Linked DNA regions of Homo sapiens: all the other regions are linked to region 1. Evidence: promoter capture Hi-C in 16 types of primary human blood cells and fetal thymus (Javierre and others, 2016). All regions are on one chromosome and are shown on one strand. The core of a region is centred on a gene start or on the middle of the fragment in contact, and the rest is flanking DNA. Distances in the headings are between cores, read along the strand shown.

Region 1 (4,820 bases), core at 788-3,287:
ATGGAGAAACCCCGTCTCTACTAAAAATACAAAATTAGCTGGACTTGGTGGTGCATGCCTGTAATCCCAGCTACTTGGGAGGCTGAGGCAGGAGAATCACTTGAACCCGGGAGGCAGAGGTTGTAGTGAGCTGAGATCACACCGTTGCACACTAGCCTGGGCAACAGAGAGAGACTCTGTCAAAAAAAAAAAAAAAAAAAAAAAAAGAGTGTCCCAGGATGACACTTGAGAAGCGGATCCATAGAGCAACTCATCTCCACTGAAACAGTAGAACAATGAATTTCTGGAGGAATTGTTTTCAGGGCAAAATTGGAATTGATTGTTTGATCATTTGGAAAATAAACATGATAGTCATTTGATAGATCAGTTGTAGAAAAATATCAGGATGGGGCATAACAAACTAAGTAAATAGATACAAGGTTTTATAAGGAAGAAAACAAGAATAGTACACTATTGGCTGTGTTGTCATTGCTATTGGCATAGTCACTTACTTAGCTCCTAAACTGTGAAAGTGCTGTGTTGGAAGGAGAAGTTGCTTGGCATGAAAGAGCTAAATCCTAATCTGAAGCAACAGGTAGTCAGAGCACAACATCTATTGGCAAATCAAGAGATGGCAGTACAAATTATTTAGAAATAGGGAGGTAAATGACAGAAGAGACAGATAAAAGCAGAATATGGCTGCCTCTAAAAAGGAGAGGAACATGATAGGTATTGCATTATCTTAAAATATTATATTAAAATAGTACCTGCATTGTCTTAAAATATATTATTTCTTTAAAGTGTGTGTTTATATTGTTTTTTAAAAATACAATTTTGAAATTTATTGTTGAAAATGGACACATGGAACAAACCAAACCTTGTTTTATCATGTAATTTTCAGAAAATATGTGATCCATAAAGATTAAAAGAAAGTTGTATTAAGTCTGGCAGCTTTAGTATTAACTTGAAATAAAATATGGCAAGCTTTCCACGTCCTCCTTTATTTCCACAATCCATATGTACGAGCTAGATTCCAGTCAGAACTTCCACAAATACTTCACTCTTTGGTAGCAGCGGTTATAAATTACGCCTTTGCTAATTTGCGTTGTTCCCAACCAGGAGAAACATTACCACAAAAAAAGTCAGTTTCATCCTGCAGTGTTCCCGCAGCAACCATATTAAGCTGGAAGAATAAAGCTCCTTTGTAGTAGTAGCGTCTATTGAATTACAATGTAAATGTTGATGCCTGCCTGGAAACGTCAAATGACAACAGGTTTACAGAACGAATTCAGTGGTTGTTTGCAGCTCTGGAATCCCAGGCTGCAGAGTTGAGATCGAAGAGGTGCGTCTGGCCATCTTAGCGTTCATTCAACCAAATCTCCTCACTCCATCAAAACCACGCCACTCCCCACCTGCCCAGCTCGTAAAAGGATGCTCACCTGTTTGAAAATCTGTAATATATCTGATGTCTTTTACACAGCAGGACACGAAAAAGTGTTTGTTGTGGATAAGAGTGTTAAAAATTCAATTACGCAACAGACCAAACTTTGTGCTTCTTTCCCCCTCTCAGCACAAAGTAACTTTAGTCCCGTCCTCTTCTGCCACTGTCAAACAGCCCTGTTACTGTGGGCATTAAATGCCTTGTGGCGTACTGCGCATTTGATTCTGGTTGACTTGGGATACCTGAGCTCGGCTCTCATTAGCTCTTCCGCTCGACCCACAATCCCTAGTGTTTGCAGGTGTTGCATTCCCCCAACCCCTTTCTTCTCTTCAACCAGTAGCCTCCACCTTCCCATCCCTGCTTTGGAGAAGGAGGAAAACGCAGCTTGAGATCTACTCGAAGAACTGACCCTCAGCTCTCACAGGCTGCCGCCGAGCTGCAAGCATGCCGCCGCTCCACTCGGGTAAACTTCGGAGTGAGTTACCTGCACTCGGAGAAGGGCCTTACCTGAGCGCGCCTCTGCCAATGGCAGCTCACCTGAGGGAGCTCCCCAGCCAATCATCGCGCAGCTCGTCCCTCGGGCTTGTACCCTTTAGTGAAAGAATTCAGCTCCTTGCGAGAAAGTTACCTGTGGCCGCCCAAGTCCGCCACTTTCTGCTCTGTGTCTGCCCATTGCCACGATCCAGGAGGACTCCGCGCCGCCCGGCCGCCTCCGAGCTCGGGCCCCATGTGAGGGGCCCCCCCTTATCCCACCTTTCCGGCTAGGTGAGGGCGCGAGCGGGCGAGCGAGCGAGAGTGGTGAGGGGGGACGGAAAAGCAGAATTACCTGTAGCTCTTGTTCTGCCATCTCGGGCGCTCTCACACACCTTCACCTGCACAGACTTGAAAGTCCAGTTTCACCAGAGGCTGAGGCTCCAGGAAAAGCGGAGCAAGTTCATTGGATCAAACATGTCACAAGAGTCGGACAAGTAAGTGGATCACACGCGCCGGCTGCTGCTACTACTACCACTTTGGGCTGATGGCAACTGGTTTGTTATGTTTTTGTTTTTAAGTTGCTATTGTTGGTATTTTTCTTTCTTTTTTCTTTTTCTTTTTGGTGGATCCAGACTTTTCCGCATTATGTTTCTACCCTGATTAAGGGGAGAAACCCTACAACAATGTGAATATTTAATATCCCCTTTGGGCCTTGATAGTAAAAGTGGGTTTTCCTTTTCCTTCTTCCCTTAGGAATGGTCTCAGCTCCCGCTCCTGGATGAATACTTGGATATTGCCAGAGGTTTTGGTAGATGGGCGCGGGAGGCCTGCTCTTCCCTCTCTGTTTTAGCTGCTCCCACCGATCTGGCGTTTAGGGCCATTTGGAAGTTCAGCTGAGTTCCTTCGATTTGTCCAAAGGGCCTACTGGAAAAGTGGGGCTTGGCCGCTTTTGTGTGACCGCAACAAAGAGCTTTTATATGAGGCAGAAACGGCCATCTTCTCGCACCGGGCAGGAGGGTGGGCGTGAGTGCGCGCCCGCGTGTGGCCCCGATGGGAGGCGAGGCGCTGGGAGGCCGGGGGGCGCGGGGGCGGCCGGCGCCGTCCCCCACTCCCTCGACATCCCGCCTTCCTCCCCCCTCCCCCGCCTCCCTCCCCCGGGTCCGCCCCCGCATTGTTTGGCCACCTTCCTCAGGTGCCCGGGGGGAAAGGACGGTTCGCGAACTGGGGGAACTCATGTGAGGCCTCGAGTTAGGGCCTCGGCGGGGCGCGAAGGGGCGCCTGCCACTGAGCGATTCACCCGCGCCCCCGACGGCGTCTGCACGCCCCTCGAGCTCGCGGCCCTCCACGCAGTTGGCCGCCACCTCGGACGCGGCAGGCGGGACTGCGTGGGGCGCGCCGAGCCTTCTCGGGGTGCTCTCGCCGTCAAGGCCGAGGGCTCGGGGCGGCGGGAACGCTGGGCTCGCGTCCTTCCCGTCCCGGACAGGCACTCCAGACGCGTCGGGGAGCCACAGCCTGCGCGGCCGGAGCCGCCCGCGGGTCACTGGGCCCGGTCCGGCCGCGTCCTGACGGCCTCCCCCCTGGCCGGCCCCCGCCCTCGGAAGGCTTTGTGCGAGCCGGGGGAGGTGGGGCCTGGGCGGGCGCGGGAGGGAGCCGGAGGTGGGTCCCGCGGCCTTTCTCGGGATTCGGCGGGGACACTCCCTTCCCCCTCCTCTCGGGCGCGTCCGGGCCTGGGAACTGGCTGCGTCCTATTGGAAGTGCGCGGGGCCGCCCTTTTGCTTTCCCCGGTAACTTTGCCGTGGCGTTGCGGCCACCCCGAGGGGACCTTCCTGAAGGTGTCTCGCCGGAGAGGGCCGGTGCCCCAAGGCCGCGGGCCGCTGGGCCTGTCATGGAGAAGTGGCGGGGACCCGTCCCAAGTTGAGGGACCACGAGGGAGGAGTGGGAAGGCCCTGCGGACCTGTTCAGGGGTGGAGGGGAAGGACTAGCCTCAACATAAAGCCGCTGGCAGGTTAGGCGAACCTAAGAAAATGCGCTGTCATACTTAAAAAGCAAAAAACTGCCAGATAGTTGTACCCCGTTAGCCACCGATGAGGAATTAACCGAGTACAGCATACCGGAGGGGAAGAACTAGCGTTACCAACACGGGAGCGGGTCAGAGGCAGGGTAGGAAGAGGAGAGTGTGTGGTTGTCTGAGAACACCCCCAGCTCCTCCCCATATCTCTCTAGTCTTCAAGGAAACACGACTCGAGTTTGAAATTTTCAGTAGCCAAATCCGGAGGCGACAGCAAGTTTTTGGGGTTTGTTTTGATCTTTGCCTGCGTCAAAGATGATTGCAAATCTAATTTAATTAATCGCGCAATTAACATTTAGTTTGCTTAGTTTTGTGATACAACAGAACTCGAATTCTGAATGAAAACGGGTCGGTCTTTATTTTCACCAGTTATACTTAGCAGCAATAAGAACAATGTGTTTACCATCAGAAATAAGTACTGAGCGCCCGCAATCTGGTTTCACCACACGCATCACCTGGTTTTTACAGGTGATAAGTATCTGGGATTACATATGCTTGCATTTAATGAACGTTGCTTTTATCTAGTCGTGGTTTCCAAGACGAAATTTTGTATCCTGGGAAAAGTAATCGTTACAATGGTGCAAGGAGATAATTCAACTGGTTTGTTTCTCTCTCATTGGGCTGTTGAAAATGCTTTAAGTCAATACATGACTTCTGGATCATTTTTGCGAATTCTAGCCTCGTTTTCTTAATATTCTAAGGGAGCCCCGGCAGGGGTGGGTCTGAAGCTTATGCAACTATGTGTGTGACATGGGGTGGGGACTGTAAGTAAACGGGCCCCTGGGTACAGCGTGGGGCTTCCTTCCTGAGCAAGTGAGAGGCTTCATCAGCCTCATGGAAAATCCACCTTACGAGGCC
Region 2 (4,820 bases), core at 658-3,157, 680 kb after region 1:
TTCTTTTGACTCTATGTCCCAGATCCAGGACACACTGCTTCAAGGAATCTTTGGGCAGCTCTGCCCCTTCAGCTTTGTAGGGTACATTCCCCCATGGCTTCTCTCAAAGGTTGTTGAGTGCCTGCAGCTTTTCCAGGTGCAGAGTGCAAGCTGCAGGTGGATCTACTTTCTGGGATCTGGAGGACAGCGGGCCCCTTCCCATAGCTCCACTAGGCAGTGCCCCAGTGGGCACTTCGTGTGGACCCTACAACCCCACATTTCCCCTCCACACTGCCCTAGCAGAGGTTCTCTGTGAGGGCTCTGCCTCTGTACCAGGCACCTAGGCTTTCTCATACATCCTCTGAAATACAGACAGAGGATGCCAAGCCTCCTTCATTCTTGCACTCTGTGTGCCTACAGGCTTCACACCATATGGAAGCCACCAAGGCTTACAGCTTGTGCCCTCTAGGGTAGCAGCCCATGTTGTACCTGGGGCCCTTTGAGCCATGGCTGGAGCCAGAGCAGCCAGGATGCAGGAAGCAGTGTCCCACAGCTGCCCAGGGCAGCGGGGCCCTGGGGCTGGCCCATGAAACCATTCTTCCCTCCTAGGCCTCTGTACCTGTGATGGGAGGGGCTACCTGGAAGGTCTCTGAAATGCCTTTGAGGATTTTTTTCCTGTTGTCTTGGCTATCAGCACCTGGCTCTTTTTCAGTCATGCAAATATATCTCGTAAGTGGTTGCTCTACAGCCTGCTTGAATTCCTCTATCCAAAAAGCTTTTTCTCTGTCTGGCACGTGGCCAGGCTGCAAATTCTCCAAACTTTTATCTCTACTTTCCTTTTAAATATAAATTCCAACTTTAAGTCATTTATTTGATCCTGCCTCTGAGTGTGGGTTATTAAAAGCAGCAGGTCACCTCTTGAACACATTGCTGCTTAGCAATTTCTTCCACCAGATTCCCTAAATCATTACTATTTAGTTCAGACCTCCGCAGACTTCCTAGGGCATGGACACAACACATCCAAGTTCCTTGCTAAGGCATAATAAAGGTGACCTTTGCTACAGTTCCCAATATGTTTCTCATTTCCATCTGAGACCTCTTCAGTCTGGCCTTCACTATTCATATTACTATCAACATTTTGGTTACAACCATTTAACCAGTATCTAAGAAGTTCCAAACTTTCCCTCATATTTCTCTCTTCTTCTGAGCCCTCCCAACTCTTCCAACTTCTGCCCATTGCCCAGTTCCAAGGGTGCTTCCTTATCTTTATAGCAATGCCCTACTCCTCAGTACTAATTTCTGTGTTAGGCTGTTCTCACATTGCTGTAAAGAAGTACTCAAGACTGGGTAATTTATAAAGAAAAGAAGTTTAATTGGCTCATGGTTCTACAGGCTGTACAAGCATGGTCCCACCATCTGCTTGGCTTCTGGGGAGGCCTCAGGGAGCTTTTACTCATGGTGGAAGGCAAAACAAGAGCAGATACTGTCTCACATGGCAGAGCAGGAACAAGGGGTGATGGCAGTCCCACACATTTCTAAAAATCAAGATCTCCTAAGAACTCACTCACTATCACAAGGCACCAAGCCATGAGCGCCCCCATGATCCAAACATCTCCCACCAAGCCCCACCACCAACATTGGGGATTTAAGTTCAACATGGGGTTTGGCAGGGACATATATTCAAACCGTATCATCCACTGAGAGTTAGCTGCTGCTCTGATTTGATTAATTTTCACTTTGGGACTCAGGCTAATGGAGCCACCTCAATCAGAAACGTTACCAGTCATTATGGCATTGTGAACCATATATGCTGGCTGTTAACACCTTCTGCTCAGAAGTGGCCCACATTTGTTTTGTTTTGTTTAGAATAAACACATCTGGAATGTTTCCCATACTTGATTGGTCAAAGCAAGTCACATGGCCACTTCTGGGTTCAACAGGGTAGGAATGCATAATCTTCCCATAGATAGAGACACCGTAGAGAGAAGCACCAAAATCATGGGTGAACCATAATATAGTTGACCACAGTGGGTTGTTATTTTACTCCTTAAAAAGTGGTCCTTATACTCAGAAATTCAACTAAAGTAGGCCTGTAACTACAGTACTTTTTGCCTATGTGGCTGGATTTAAAGATTAACAATACAAGGCATTCAATCTAAAGACATCAAATATTTTTATGTGTGGTAGATATTCTGTGATCTTTCTTATAAAAGGGTATTCTTTCATTGTTTTATCATGGATAAACATATAGCAATTTACAGTCATCAGAAAATTAGAATCTCAAAATCTAAATTATAAGGGTATAAGTGAGCTAGATACCTATACTTTTTCCTAATAGCTCTTATTCACAAATACATGACTGAAAGGATGGAAGAAGAGTGTGTGTGTGTGTGTGTGTGTGTGTGTGTGTGTGTGAGAGAGAGAGAGAGAGAGAGAGAGAGAGAGAGATTGAGAATTGAGGAGGAGGGCAGACCTACCTAGAAATTCAATACCTTGTCCAGAGAGAGAGAGAGATTGAAATTGAGAATTGAGGGGAAGGGGAGACCTACCTAGAAATTAAATACCTTGTCCAGCACTGGAAGTTCCTAATACAACTTGTTAGTTCTGCCAGGAACCACCATGGACAGTTCCCATGGCACGCCTTTGCTTCAGAGAGAATCACCACGTTCTTGGGGTAAGTACATTCTGCACAACCCATTAACTCCATGCAAAAGTGACCATATTTCTCATTGTTGAAAGGTGTGAAGTTCTAGGATAAACAGCTAGATTTATCATCTTTTCAAGTAAAAGGAATATTTGAGTCATGGAATGCCACTTGCAGTTTCTAATAATACAAATATACTTGGGATAAAAACAAGTATCTTCAATAAATAATCTTTATCTTTAATAAATAAGCATTTTAGTGAAATTACAGAGCTTTGACAGCCTAATAAAGATACTTCTGTATCATCAGATATCAGAGAAATGCCTAAAAGGTGATCTTGGCAAGGCAGAGAAGAATTAAAAGATCTTTGCCAGTGATCCTGTCTTGGCTGTATCCACCAGAATGAAGACATAAGATTCAGCCCTCAAACACTAATCCAAGCTTGTGGAGCTGGCATGACTTAGTCTAGCAAAGTAAGTGGTCTTCCAAGTCGAGCATACTGAGTCTGAATCCTATTTCTGCCACTCACCAACCATGTGACCTTGAACAAATTAATCTCTCTGAGCATTGATTTTCTCACCTGTAAAATGAGAATAACAGCCCTTATTATTATGGCTGTGGTGGAGATTAAATGAGATAATATTCGTGGCACATGGTAAGTCCTTAATAAAGCATAGCTGTCATCAATCAATCAGTCATCAGCAACTTCATCTTCATCTTCATCATCATGAGCCAATCTATAGAAGGAACTAGGGAGCTACAAAGGAAGCTCAATCATAAAACATTCCACAGGCTGATAGAGGTAATGTTTGTTTTCACAAATACATTTTTAATGTCACTACATATCCTAGATTTCTGATTTTTAAAACATCATGATTACTTTCATCAATTAACTGACTAGTGATTGATTTAATGCCTTATTTAAAAGGGTTTAGAAAATATGGGTATTACAGTCCTAATTGTTTTTCTCATTAAATTCAGCAGCAACCATAGTACCACAAAAATGAGTGTCTTCATAATTGAACTATTTCCATTCTCACTGAGAAGTGTCTGAAATTTGTAATTTTATTAACTGAAATGAGTCTTCATCCTCATGCAGAAAGAAAAAGCATCTGCTCCTAATAATAATGCCATGAAAAAATTATCACAAAAATCAGACATTTTGTATTTCCTCCTTGGATAAATTTGCAAAAAAACCTCATCACTTTGTAGGGTTCTCTTGAGGGTGAAACTTAAATCCATCCAAAAAGTGTTGCCTTCTGAACTTAATTGCTACCAAATTATTTTATTTGCATAAGCCAATTTTTACTGGGTGAAGCACAATTTGTAGGATGAAGTTTTTCTGAAAGGCATAATGGGGAAAAATTAATTATAGTGCTCTAGAGTTCACCCAAAAGCACAGAAAATACACATTAATAAATGACTTTGTGTGGATATCTGGAGCTCATAGAGGTATGGCTATTTCTCTCCCTGAGATAGGAATGACTTTTTCCCAGGTACTCTGGAAGCCATGGTAGCTTTGGTAGACATATTACTGAAATATAGCCCAAAAGTAGACAGGCACTTTAGGCTTGCCACTTCATTTCACCAAAATGCCGTTCTACATCAGGTCTCTGAATTGTCGTTTCACTCAGAGTTTATTAATCTAAAATTTGCTTTCTCGCTTGAAGAGATGAAAATTAGAGATGCTTTCCTCATGAGCTACCCTCTCTTACTATGAAACCCCAAGAGAGTACTGTTCATAAATGAACCATACATGAAAGAGGAACTATAGCTAGAGAACAAAAATATGAAGACATGTCCAAAGAAAGGCAAACTTTAGGAATTGTAAATTTATCATTTTTAAAACAAATAAATCAATATTGGGCAAGAACGTTGAGAAACAGATACTCTTATCCATTGTGGGTAAAACTATAAACTTAATATTAACTTTTTGAAAGTTGGTACTGTGTTTCCAAAACTAAGAATATGGAAATCTTATCAAAGGCAGGTGAAGACCATGGGGTTTAGAGTTGGAGGCCTGTCTTTAAATCCCTATCCATTACCTGCTATGTGACTCTAGACAGCTTTCTCAACTTCTCTGAACCTCAGAATCCTCATTTATAAACATTGGGATAATAATATCATCAACTCCTTAGAGCTGTTGTGAAAATCAATGGAGATAATATCTGCAAAGTATTTATCACAGAGCATGTTA
Region 3 (4,820 bases), core at 1-2,500, 660 kb after region 1:
ATGGTGGATGGAGGCAAAAGGACGCATCAAGGAGAGCAGTTTGGGACACAATTGGTTCTCCATGTACATTACTTTATTGTATCCTCATAGCAACCCTGTGAAGTACTATTGTCTCCATTTCATAGATGGAGAAACTGAGGCACAGAAGCATTAAGAAACCTGCTAAGTCATACAACGAGTAAGATAAACAGGGCACTAGCATGATGAGAAAGGAACATAAGCAATATGGCAGACAACATAGATTGTTTTGGCTGCTCAGCACCTACCTCCCTGCTTCTGATAACAATTCTAAAAGAATTGCTATGGGGATGCTGCACCTTCTCTATTTATATCCCATGCACTTCATATGACCCAAAAGTGGACATGCTGGGTATCACCAGCATTTGCCTTGCAATCGTTTTTTGGCAAATAACCCAAGAATTGGCATGGATGGGGAAATGACCCAAGTTCTTTGAAATCTAAGAGATCTAGATTCAATTCTAGAATTTTCATTTGGACTATCAGGAAAGCAGGTACTCTTTTTCTGCAAGGAGGAACATTTGAACTGAAAAGCAGTTCTGAGTTCTGTGGTTGTCTTGCCCCATAAGAAGAAAGCCTAACAAAGAATGAAACCAACACAGTGGAAGTCAGATCTATGAGATGGAGAGAAACCAGATTCTAGTGACATTATCCAAGCCACTCTATCCAGCTTTCCTTGGAGCTAGATTAACCCTACACCTTCAACAATATTCGTAAGTTATTTTTTTAGTCAAGTAGTTAGAGTCGAGTTTTCTGTCTCAGCTTCAACTTTGACCTGAAAGAGCCCTACCTGATAGATAAGGGTTTCTCTCTCTGGATAGAAATGACTTGAACATGCTTTTAGGTTGAGAGGAGGCTAGTTGAGTAGGAAATTATTTAGAAAACAGTAATATAAGAAAAGCTTTATTTTACTTGCTTATATATTTATTTAGCTCTGGGTAGTACAGATTGTCTTATATTTTATTCCCACTATGTGTACATCCTATTATCATCCAAGGAAAGTGCCTCTGAGGCAAAATAAAAGCTCAATATCCAAAGAATGATTATACACCATGGTCTACTCACTAAAGGCAAAAATCATTTTAAAACATCTTTTTTAATTTCTAGGACTCCTTCATCTCATGTATTCACATGGCCAGCTCCCATTTAGCTTTGAAGAATTAGCTCAATGGTGTCAAACTCTGGAAAGATGCTCCTTTAATTTTCCTCAACCCTATCTTACGAGCTAAATTAGAGGCCTCTATTTGATGTCCCATGTCTAATGCTTATGAGGATCAGAGCAATTTTAACAACCACCATAGAATCACATGATTGCCAAACCTCCAGACTCGATGAGCCCCATTAAACCATGATGGAGACACAGTAAATGCAAGGAAATCAGAGTGGAGAAGAAACTGTGTTACCGTTACCCTCCCAGATAGCCTCTCTCAAACTCTAAGTATGCTAATGAAAGAACCTGTAATTTGCTCCTCCAAAATAACGAAGAGCATTAGAAGTAACTCACTTTCTCTTAATGTTTAGGGTCTGTTTTTATTAATGGCATTTTTGGTCTGACTATACTTATCAAGCTTTGAGGCTAAAGGGAAAATAAGTTGTGCCTAATTTACATGAAGATAGAGGCTTAGGGAGGAATGCTTTCATCTGACTGCATGCAGTATAGTGGAAAGAAAGGATCAGGCATGTACATGCAACCCTACATTTCTGAGTTTTTACTTCTACTCAGTGTGCTTTTGAAAATCAGAACTGGTTAGAGAAGGGAGTTAAACCAACTAACACTGGTCTCTGCCATTCTTTACGAGTTGCCCTTTCAACAAATCTCCTTATATTTTCAAGGGCCTGAAGAGCAATGGCAGAAATTGCAAGAAGCCTGGCAGGATGGTGACATGGGATGCAGGCAAAAGCAAAAGTAAAATTCATAATTGAGTTACACGTGGAAAGTTAGAAAATTGCCCACTTTTAAAAGTATTTTAACTCCCTCTGTCCAACCATTATGAAATCTAGGAGCCACCTGCAAACTATGTGTTCAATTGTTTCCTTCAAATTGACTGTTTCCTAAATCAGTCAGTTTTAACATCCATTACCATTAGCATAGAGTTTGAGAAACTTAGATGTCTTTGAGAAGACATCCAAAATGTGGCAGAATATGACACATGATAATATGTGACACTGACTATGTGAATTATCAAAGGTGAGTACAGTTCTATTTATTCTGCTAAAGTATACTCTGCAGAAATTGTTTATTGAGATGAACTTGGAAAGCAAAGATAAACTATGAGTGCCATCTCTCTAAGCCTAGGTCCTCTGGAAAGATGAGCCTGAGGCAAGGGTGAAGGTATAGATGCTTTCATTGAGAGGTGCAGGCCTAGGAGGAAGTGAAGGAGAAGAAAAGTGGGAGTGAGACAAAGAAAGATGTAAAGCAAGGCTGGATTACTGTGCTGGCTAATCCTTTACAATGAGTCACAAAGAGATGTAGCAGGTCATTGAGCAGGTTAATTTCCTGGAACTATGGGACTTTTCTGAAAGGGCTTCAAAGAAGAACTGTACTGCAGAGAAATCTATAGAAGGGAGAAAGGAAATAGAATCTATCTGCCCAGTTTCTGCATGGCTCCCATTTCCTATTGGTTAAGGTTTACCCCATAGGCAGCTAACTCCCCTACATTGCCAGGCCATGTCATCCAGCCACCTGGTGGCCACTGGAAAATCCAGATTCCACATCCTGCAAGACACCATTCCACTCAGGTCTAGAAAGAGAAGGAGTGACTTGTCGCATGTGAGCTGGTGGAGGGAAGGTACATGAAGCCCTGGGGCTCCAACTTAGGGGACCTGCAAAGGTTTTCGTATTCTCCCTTTAAGATGTGTCCCTGACCAAGGCTGCATTGGGGCAGTTCAAGTTGGAAAATATGTCAGACAACAAACACTAAAGGAACACTCATTAGAAATTTACTTAGTATTAACATAGGTTCTGTGCAGGATATTAAGATGTTTGTAACTCAACTTTTGCCCTTAAAATAACCAGACATGCATAGAGATCAGAGCTCTGGGCTACTAAAGCTATTAAGATTTCCAGGGCAGGATGCCTAAGAAGAGGCAGCTGCACATGGGAAGGGCCCCAGAAGTACGCATAGGATTCACTGCATCTCCTTAGTTATCTAGTGCTGCTCAACAAATTACCCAAAATGTAGCAGCTTAAAATAACACTCATTTATTATCTCCTGGCTTTTGTGGGTCAGGAATCCATTCATGGCTTACCTGAGTCCTCTTCTTCAGGAACTTCTACAAGGCTGAAATCTTCCAGGGCTAGGGTCTCACCTGAAAGCTCAACTGGGGAGGATTCTCTTCCAAATTCACTTTCTTATTGTTGGAAAGATTCAGTTCCTTGAGGGCTGTTGGACTAAGTGCTTGTTCCTTGTTAGCTGTTGGCTTGAGGCTACCCTCAGTTCCTTGCCATATAGGCTTCTTCAACATGGCAGCTTGCTCATCAAAGCCAACAAGTCTGCTAGCAAAACAGAAGCGATGATATGTTATAACCTAATTACAGAAGCAATATGCTATTACCTTTGTTGTATTCTGTTGATTAGAAACAAGTCGTTAGGTCCAGCCCATACTCAAAGGGAAAGGATTCTTTCTGTAAGGGCATGTAGATCAGGAGGTGGAAGGACCATTGAGAGCCACCTTAGAAGTCAGGCTACCATAGTTGGACTGCAAGACAAGATTACCCAGGGCCCTGCAAAGATCACATGTTATAGGGTTCAGAGCTAGGGAAGCCAGAATGAAAAGACGTCACTAATTGCTAGAAAAGCCCTGAATACTTCAAACTTAAACAATACACTTATAAATAACTCATAGATCAAATAAAAAATTACCAGGATAATTAGAAAATATTTTGAACAGAATAAAGTATATAAAAGTATAATATATAAAAATCTATGGGCTGTAACTAAAGTTATAATAAAGGAAAAGTAATAACCTTAACTGTTTATATGAGAGAAGAAGAAAGGTTTAAAATTAATGAAATAACTAAACACCTAGAGAAGTTAGAAAAAGATAAGCAAATTAAACCTAAAATAAGTGGAAAGATGAACATAATAAAGATACAACAGAAATCAATGAAATAAAAAACAGAAATACAGAAAATTAATAAGATCAAAAATTGACTCCTTGTGGCAGAATTCATAAACCCCTAGCAAACCTCAAGAGAAAAATAGAGAAAAGGCAAACTGCCAATATCAGTATTCAAAGAGGATGTCACTACAGAAACCATGGCATCAAAAGTATAGTATAGGAGCAATATGAACAACTTTGTGCCAATAAATTCAATAACTTAGATAAAATGAACAAATTCCTTGAAAAATTCAACTTATCAAGTAACGAATATGTTACATCACAGAAGATCCCCAGGGCCCTGTTTGGCACAAGGTCTGAAACAGGGAAGGGAAAACTGCAAAAAATGCTATAAAGCAAGCTCTTTAGAATAAAAAGAAATGGCATCATATGGTAATTCAGATATACTGGAAGGAATAAAGAGCACCAAAAATAGTAGCCTGTGGATGAATATAAAAACTATAGTCATTGGCTGTGGGGCTCAGGTGCAGCCTGAGCTGTTGGTTCTGCACTGAGATGTTCCAAAGCATTATTAAAAATGTTTGGATCCCCATGAAGCCCTCCTATACCCAAGCATGCCAGGAGATTTGGGTAGGAATGGGGTTGATAAGCATTATTGCTTATAAAATCAGAAGTGCTGATAAAAGAAGTAAAGCTTAGAAAGCATTGAGTCTTGCATCCGCTCATGGTCATTACTAACC

Evidence for each region. The method cuts DNA at HindIII sites, captures the fragments that hold promoters and counts their contacts. A CHiCAGO score of 5 or more calls a contact.
Region 2: a fragment that was not itself captured here is called in contact with the fragment with the promoter of GRHL2 in region 1 in 1 of 17 cell types (total CD8 T cells); the score reaches 5.4 in total CD8 T cells.
Region 3: a contact is called between a fragment that was not itself captured here and the fragment with the promoter of GRHL2 in region 1, in 1 of 17 cell types (M1 macrophages). The highest score is 5.9, in M1 macrophages.

Annotation. Positions count from the first base shown.
Region 1 is chr8:101,490,402-101,495,221 of GRCh38, forward strand. GRHL2 (grainyhead like transcription factor 2) reads left to right here and starts at 2,038. Exons shown (of 16, transcript NM_024915.4): 1 at 2,038-2,388. The coding sequence starts at 2,369. GRHL2-DT (GRHL2 divergent transcript) reads right to left here and starts at 2,304. Exons shown (of 2, transcript NR_186782.1): 1 at 2,049-2,304. RefSeq lists an enhancer at 2,056-2,584. The HindIII fragment of the contact is 3,727 bases long and covers 962-4,688 here.
Region 2 is chr8:102,173,291-102,178,110 of GRCh38, forward strand. No RefSeq gene overlaps it. Among named protein-coding and RNA genes, the nearest start is that of MIR5680, 50 kb to the left of the region's middle. The HindIII fragment of the contact is 2,310 bases long and covers 753-3,062 here.
Region 3 is chr8:102,149,915-102,154,734 of GRCh38, forward strand. It overlaps the pseudogene LOC112268018. Among named protein-coding and RNA genes, the nearest start is that of MIR5680, 27 kb to the left of the region's middle. The HindIII fragment of the contact is 667 bases long and covers 918-1,584 here.